Linked DNA regions of Homo sapiens: region 1 is linked to region 2. The links are contacts of gene promoters, found by promoter capture Hi-C in human tissues and cell types (Jung and others, 2019). All regions are on one chromosome and are shown on one strand. The core of a region is centred on a gene start or on the middle of the fragment in contact, and the rest is flanking DNA. Distances in the headings are between cores, read along the strand shown.

Region 1 (3,773 bases), core at 665-3,164, 380 kb before region 2:
TGGCACCGCAAGAAGCAAGCAGGGATTCCCAAGGAGGAGGTGACGAGAGGGCCCCGGTGCAGCCCGGGCGACCTCTCATCTCCAAACACCTATAGTCCCAACCCAGCCCCTCCTCTCCAAACCCCAGCTCGTTCCCACCCCCCACCCCATCTCCCGCATCAACCGAGAGCTAACTCTGCCCCTCTCCCTCCAGGAGTATAAGCTGATGTACGGGATGCTCTTCTCTATCCGCTCGTTTGTCAGCAAGATGTCCCCGCTAGACATGTACGCGGAGTCAGAGAAGATGTTGGGAGGAGGGCTAGCCTTGGGAATTTGGGGATGGGGGAAACTTTCTGAAGTGGAAGGAGCATTGGCCTCCAGAGGGGGGAAAGGGTACTTAAGAGAGGCTGAGTCCGGAGCGAGAGTGCTGGAGCTGGCAGGAGTGGGGGTGGGGAGGGTCTGAAAGTAGAGAAGTTGGTGGGGGCTAAATTGAGGGGTGACGATGGGCGATGTCTTTACTCAACCAGGCTTCTACAAAGGATATGTTTAGATAAAGAGGGAGTCGATGTTTGCGGGGATCAGAAGTGTCTCTTTGGGAGAGATTCTGCTCCCATTCTTTAACACCCTCCTCATCTCTGCAGGAAGGATGGCTTCCTGGCCTTCCAAACTAGCCGTTACAAACTCCATTACTACGAGACGCCCACTGGGATCAAAGTTGTCATGAATACTGACTTGGGCGTGGGACCCATCCGAGATGTGCTGCACCACATCTACAGTGCGGTCAGTGCCAGCCCCAGGGACCCATCCCCCAGAGCTCTTCAGAACCCCAAGACTCCCTCATCTCCCCTGCCCCAATCCTACTATATGTTTGCTCAACTCAAGAGTTTTCTCAGGGGCCCTTAGGTTCTTAACTCCCACCACCACTTTCTCCTCAGAGAGGGCTTGCCTTCCAGCCCTTATTCCTTGTGCATTCACACACCCCTGAGGTTATACAAGGTTTGGGGCTAAAAACCAGAAGTATCCAAAGCCTGGCTCTAACATCTTCCCTTTCCATAGCTGTATGTGGAGCTGGTGGTGAAGAATCCCCTGTGCCCGCTGGGCCAAACTGTGCAAAGTGAGCTCTTTCGCTCCCGACTGGACTCCTATGTTCGCTCTCTGCCCTTCTTCTCCGCCCGGGCTGGCTGAAGCAACCTACCTCAAGTCTCAGGAGAATTCATGTCTGCCTGGGGCCCTTCCGAACCTGTGCCAACTAAGGGCCCCCACTGTAAGCCCCCGCACCCCCACCCCCTGCCCAGAGCAACAGCCTAAAGGCCTGCCCTGATGCTCTCCTCCTACCAGAGTGAAGCCCACAGAGTCCCTCCACCTCCACACCAGGCCCTCTCTCCAGTTTTATCCCCTGCCTAATGCTGCGAGAAGCACAGAATAAACTTTTTGTCACTCTCTGCGGCCTGAGCGTGTTGGTTTGAGGGCCCTCTCAGTCCTGCCCCACGCATGAAGGTGGAAAGTAGGGCAGCCACACCCCCTGGAGGGCCACGAAGTGGCTTTGCGGATGGGTTTCTCAACCGTGGGAATATTGATGCTTTGAGCTGGATAATTCTTTATTGTGGGGACCGTCCTGTGCTTTGTAGGATTTTAGCATCCCTGGCCACCACCCACTAGATGCTGATAGCACAGGCATGAAATCAAAAATATCTCCAAACCTTGCCGAAAGTACGCTGGGAGATACATTCCCTCCCGATTGAGAATCACTGGGCCGGGGGAAGCCTGACAGCCCTTGGGTCCCAGAGGGTGCAGGAGCCATCCTCCCCAATTCCGCTCAGAAAATATTCAAGCTGCAGAGCCTTCAGCAGGCGGGGCTTATGCAGATGAGCGGCAGGTTTGGCTGAGAGGAGGGCGGCTCTATGCAGATGAGGAGGCGGTGCCTGCATGCTGATGAGCTGGGCCCGCTGCCGACGCGGCTGGGAGCCCAGCGGGTCCCGCAGCGGTTCGCGCTGAAGTGGCATCTCTCTCCCGCCCCGCTTCCCCCTGGGTCCTTATCCTCCGAGACCTTTACCTCATCCTCGACCTTTACCCTCATCCATTTCCCCCTCCTAATCCTTGCTCCTGTGTCCCCCGTAACTGAATATCTCCACTCCTGGCGCCCCCCACGTTTCTTCCCTCCCGCCGCAAACCTCGCGACCTCCAGCAGCCCGCCCCCGCGGGCCCGATCCTGCCTGGCGGCTCCCGCCGCAGCCTCCTCAGCCTTCCCGCTCTGCCGGGGTTCGCCCCACTACGCCCCCGGTCGTCAGCCCTCGGGCTTCCCTGCTCCCCCCTCCCGTCCCCTCGGAGCCCCCTCCCCCGCCTCGGCCAGCCAGCATGCAGGTGTCTATCGCGTGTACCGAGCAGAACCTTCGCAGCCGGAGCAGTGAGGACCGTCTGTGTGGACCCCGGCCGGGCCCCGGGGGCGGTAATGGTGGGCCGGCCGGCGGGGGGCACGGGAATCCTCCGGGGGGTGGAGGGTCTGGCCCCAAGGCCCGAGCTGCACTGGTTCCCCGACCCCCAGCGCCCGCTGGGGCCCTCCGAGAGAGCACCGGCCGAGGCACTGGCATGAAATACAGGTATGGGGGTGGCCGGGCAGCCCACCCCTTCCGCTTTCCTTTCGGGACCCCTGAGACTGCTTGAGATGGCCGCCAAGACCCCTTCAAACTTCACTAAGTAGGTCTCCCTTCTTTCCATCTCTTCTTTCTGTCTCTGGCACTCCCTCACTTTGTCCCTCTCTTGGTTTCTGTCGATACCCCTGACTACGAGAATCAAGTTTACCAAGGTTGACTGGGTCCTGTCAGACCCAGGGGATGCCCCTGAGCTTCCCTCCTTACCCCTGGGAAGGTCAGGGATGCATGGATCTCCACGCTACACGGATCTCCAGGCTATGCCTCCTCCAGTGGAGTGTCCTTGGGTCCGTGTCCTGGGGAGTGGAGGGAGGGAATCAGCTTCTCACTCTGGCCTGCTCGGGGTGCCTGACCCAGATACTGCCCCTGCCTGCCCCAAAGGCTAGGTCTTCTGCGACCTTTCTTGGGTGCAAGGGGAGTGGGGCCGGTGGGAAGGATGGACCACATTTTTCATCTCCATGCTGAGGGACAGGGTCTGGGTAGACTGAAATGTAACTGACTTTATCTCAGAGGACTGCCAGACCAGAAGCTCAGAACCTGAAGTAGGGGGTAGAGGAGGGGCTCCTGCTTGGGAGTGAGCTGAGGTCACTGATCTGACCTGCTTTGTCACCTGAGGAATCTGATCCCCTCTATATGGTGGCCCTGATTGGAAAGCTGAGCTGACACCTGGGTTGGGGGCTTTGGGAGGATGAGGGGGCTCACTGGTTCAGAGACAGTCTTCACAAGTCAATAGGAACAGAGGGAGTGGAGAGGGAGAACTAGGCTTTTCTGTCTTACTCTCCCCCCTCCCCCCAGGTCCTCAATCTGCCTTTCCTCCAGGCCCATCTGCCTAGCCTAGCCAGGGACCCCTGTCTGTCTGAATGCCTGAACTTGACTTGGTTTACCTCTTCCAACCTGCCATCTACCATTTGGCACAGCACTCTGCCTGAGGGCCTGGTCTCACAAACTCACCACAATCAAACAAAATTCCTCCCAGCCCCTCACTGCACACAACCCACAGATGACTCAAACACAGACAAGACCCCAGAAGAAGGACAAACCAGACTGCACGTCTTCAATGTGATAAGAGGGAATGGAGACTCTGGACAGTGGCTCCAGAGGAACAGTCACATATGGTTCACTTGTCCTTTTGAGAAAATTCCTAGG
Region 2 (3,582 bases), core at 887-3,386:
GGGACAGTGATTTGCTGGGGGAACTGGGCAGAGTTCTGGGGAAGAGTAGGGGTCTTTCATGGGGTCCCACGCCTGGGTCACAGAGAGAACCAAGACCTTCATGAACTGGCTTCTGTGGTTCTGAGACTGATGGCCGGGAAGGGAGTGGGAGGTCAAAGGTTTTCAAGGGCCCTTTTCCCAGGAGGCCAGTGCTGTGTCGGGGGATGGGGTCTCACCTGCCTGCGCTCCGTCCTGTCCAGGTCGTGGATGAACTGTAAAGTACAGGAAAAGGCTGGTGAGACCTGCCCTGACCCTCTGCCACCTGCCCCTCTCCTCCTGGGTATGGCTCACCCATCACCCACCTTCATAATGGGCTGCGATCGCTCTTCGAGCCCGTGTTTTCCGGCCTTTAGGTGCTGAGGATCAAGGAAAGACAGATGAGCAAAGCGGGCCCTAGTGGGGGTCCCAGAGCAACTCTCCCAGCCCCATTCCCCTCTCAGGAACCCTGGCATCCTTATTCTTGTCCAGACTCCTGGCCTTAGAATCTCAGGCCTCATCTTCCTCAGTAAGTAGAGTGACTATAATTTGTCATCCACACTGGGATACTGCTGAGAGCAAAACGGGAAGCTGCTATTAATCACACCGAGATAACAGGTGGGGGCCAGGACAACTGCATGCCGACTTGGACACGTGGTCATCCGGCCACCCCATCATCCCATTCCTAAGTCTCTTTGCCTACCGGGGCCCAGGCCTCTGACTGCCAGGCCTAGTCTCCATCAGGATCCCAGTAGTTCTTCTAACTCATGGCCACCCTGCCTTCCTGTTTGGGGTAGGGTCTGAAGGAGCACATCCATATGACAGAAGGAGCTTCAGAGGAGGGCGAGAATCCCTAGGTTTGAGTCTTGGCTGGTTAGCTGCATGACTCTGAACTCCTTTCACCCTCCGTGCCTCAGTTTCTCCCTGTGGATAATGGTTTTTGCTCTGCCCGCTTCCTGAGGTTGGGATAGAGGGATGCTCACCACTTCTGCGAGGCCGAACTAGTCGGTTCAGGAAAGGCGCAGGATCCTGGCTTTCTTCTGTCTGGGGATTCAGTTCCTAGGGGAATTAGGGCAGGGTTCAACCACAGACTCCCAGAGATATAAAGTGAGACATACGGGGCCTGTCAGGAGAGCCACCAGCCAGCAATAGACACAGAAGTCAGGGACAGATTAAGCCCCTCAGCCAACTACAGCTGGGGCCCCGGGCAAAGGTGAAGCTGGGAGTCAGGCCCCAGTCCTCACCCTTTCCTCTAGACCAGCTACACTTTCCCACCCACACACACAACCAACGCAGACCCTGCATTCAATTGGCACATTGCACACATGCCCGCACCCAGTCACCACGCACAGAGGATACACACCCTGTACACAACCGCACCCCTCTTCCACGCAGACTCACATATCTTATACAACCACGTCACCCCCAGCCAATAAACACCTCAGACTCAGGTGGCACAACCCCAGCACAAACCCCTCACACAGAGTTGTCACCACGCACACACACCCCTGCAGACACGCACCCATGCACGCACTGTGTTCACACACACCCTGCACACACCTCGAGTACGGCTGGCACAGCTGCACACACCTGCAGCCTCGGCTGTGCACACTTCCCATGCCCCAGCAGCCTGCAGACCGCGCCCACGCCCACTCACCGACGGGTCCTGGTCCTCCTCTGCCACCAGCTCCTCCTGGGCAGGCTCCTGCTGGGAAGGAGGGAGCGTCACCCTGTGCCGCTCCACCTGACATCTCACCCTCCACCCATCCTCCCTTCCCCTTGCCTTCAGCCCACGCGGCCCCCAGCGGCCCCTCTGCAGTCTCAGCTCCTGATGTGCCCAAGAAGGGGTGCGCAGCGGGGCCTCACCTGGGCGGACAGCGATGCCCGGCTCCCCAAACTGACCACGGCCAGCAGGAGGCCGAGGCAGGCCAGCGCCAGGCCCAGGCCCAGCGCGAGCGGGACCAGCAGGGCGGTGCCCGGCTCCCCCCGGCGCCCCCTCCGCCTCTGGCTCCGACGGGCGGCCATGGGGGCGGGGGGCTGTGCCTGCCTCACCGCCCCCCCATCCCGGGACCCGAGGGATCGGGGGAGGGGGAGCCGGCGGGCGGATCGGGCCGGGGAGAGGGAGGGGCAAGGGAAACGGGGCGGGAGGGGGCGCTGGGGACAGGAAGCCGGACGCTGTGTGTGATCAAACTCCGAGCCTCTCGCCGGGCGCTGTGCGCGCAGCGAACGGAGTGGGCGCCCACCCGACCTCTGAGCGCCCAGCCCGGGCGTGCACCACCAGGGCGAGGTCCGTTGCGTGCGGCCGCGGGAGCGACGGGGCTATGCGTGTGCGGGCACCTCCTGCGGGGAGGTGGGGAACTCAGGAAGGCCTGTTGGTTCAGATTCTTCTGTGTCCCTGTGTCTTCAGAGATAAGGACCCTCCTTTCCCCCAGGTGCAGGGAGGGCGCCTCTCGCAGGAGGCTGTTATTTGCTTCTTCAGGAAAAGGGCAGGGAGTTCCAGGTTGTATGACCTGGTTCAGGGAAGAAGGGCAGGAGAAGGTAAGAAAGATCCTTCGGCTTCTGCGGTTTTCTCAAATTCCTTCAGCTTAAAACACTCACTGTGCCGGTAGCACGTTCTGAAGCCCATCATTACCAATGATTGCCAAGCATCTGAGGAGGACCAGCAGCATGCAAAAGAAACACCAAAATTGGTCCGGCAGGTGGCTTACGCCTGTAATCCCAGAAGGCCAAGGCTGGGGGCCAGGAGTTCAAGATCAGCCTGGGCAAGAGCAAGACCCCATCTCTACAGAAAAGTTTTAAAAAATTAGCCCACGCCTGTAGTCCCAGCTACTCAGGAGGCCGAGGTAGGAGGATTGTTTGAGCCCAGGAGTTTGAGGCTGCAGTGAGCTGTGATTGCACCACTACACTCCAGCCTGGGCAACAGACCTTGTCTCAAAAAGAAAGAAAGAAAGGAAGAAAGAAAGAAAGGAGGGAGGGAGGGAGGGAGGGAAGGAGGGAAGGAAGGAAGGAAGGAAGGAAGGAAGGAAGGAAGGAAGGAAGGACCAAAATTGGCTGGGCGCGATGGTTCACGCCTGTAATCGCAGCACTTTGGGAGGCTGAGGCGGGTGGATCACGAGGTCAGGAGATCGAGACCTGCCTGGCCAAGATGGTGAAACCCTGTCTCTAATAAAAATACAAAAAAATTAGCCGGACGTGGTGGCAGGCGCCTGTAGTTCCCAGCTACTCGGGAAGCTGAGGCAGAGAATTGCTTGAACCCAGGAGACAGAGGTTGCAGAGAGCTGAGATCACGCCACCACACTCCAGCCTGGGCAACACAGCAAGACCCTATCTCAAAAAAAAAAAAAAAGAAAGAAAGACCAAAATTAACAAACAAAATTTGACATTGGAGGAAACAGAGATAATTCAGGATACAAAGAGTACTACCTAATATACTTAAAGAGAGTCAAGAAAAAGCATCCATAGAGCTGGGCATGGTGGTGCATGCCTGTAGTCCCAGCTACTCAGGAGGTTGAGATGGGAGGATCACCTGAGCCTGGGAGGTTGAGGCTGCAGTGAGCTGTGATCACA

Evidence for each region. The method cuts DNA at HindIII sites, captures the fragments that hold promoters and counts their contacts. A contact is called where the count stands out against the background at its distance.
Region 1: a contact is called between the fragment with the promoter of KCNAB3 here and the fragment with the promoter of TNFSF12-TNFSF13 in region 2, in 1 of the 25 tissues and cell types used here (small bowel).

Annotation. Positions count from the first base shown.
Region 1 is chr17:7,927,997-7,931,769 of GRCh38, reverse strand. It overlaps KCNAB3 (potassium voltage-gated channel subfamily A regulatory beta subunit 3), which reads left to right and starts at 1,914. Exons shown (of 14, transcript NM_004732.4): 1 at 1,914-2,576. The coding sequence starts at 2,335. It overlaps TRAPPC1 (trafficking protein particle complex subunit 1), which reads left to right. Exons shown (of 4, transcript NM_021210.5): 1 at 1-39; 2 at 194-264; 3 at 621-759; 4 at 1,036-1,421. The coding sequence ends at 1,164. RefSeq lists an enhancer at 1-110. The HindIII fragment of the contact is 19,988 bases long and covers 1-3,773 here.
Region 2 is chr17:7,547,612-7,551,193 of GRCh38, reverse strand. TNFSF12-TNFSF13 (TNFSF12-TNFSF13 readthrough) reads right to left here and starts at 2,136. Exons shown (of 11, transcript NM_172089.4): 1 at 1,882-2,136; 2 at 1,673-1,720; 3 at 999-1,074; 4 at 342-395; 5 at 216-251. The coding sequence starts at 2,040. TNFSF12 (TNF superfamily member 12) reads right to left here and starts at 2,136. Exons shown (of 7, transcript NM_003809.3): 1 at 1,882-2,136; 2 at 1,673-1,720; 3 at 999-1,074; 4 at 342-395; 5 at 216-251. The coding sequence starts at 2,040. RefSeq lists silencers at 1,942-2,021, 2,052-2,241. The HindIII fragment of the contact is 9,091 bases long and covers 1-2,197 here.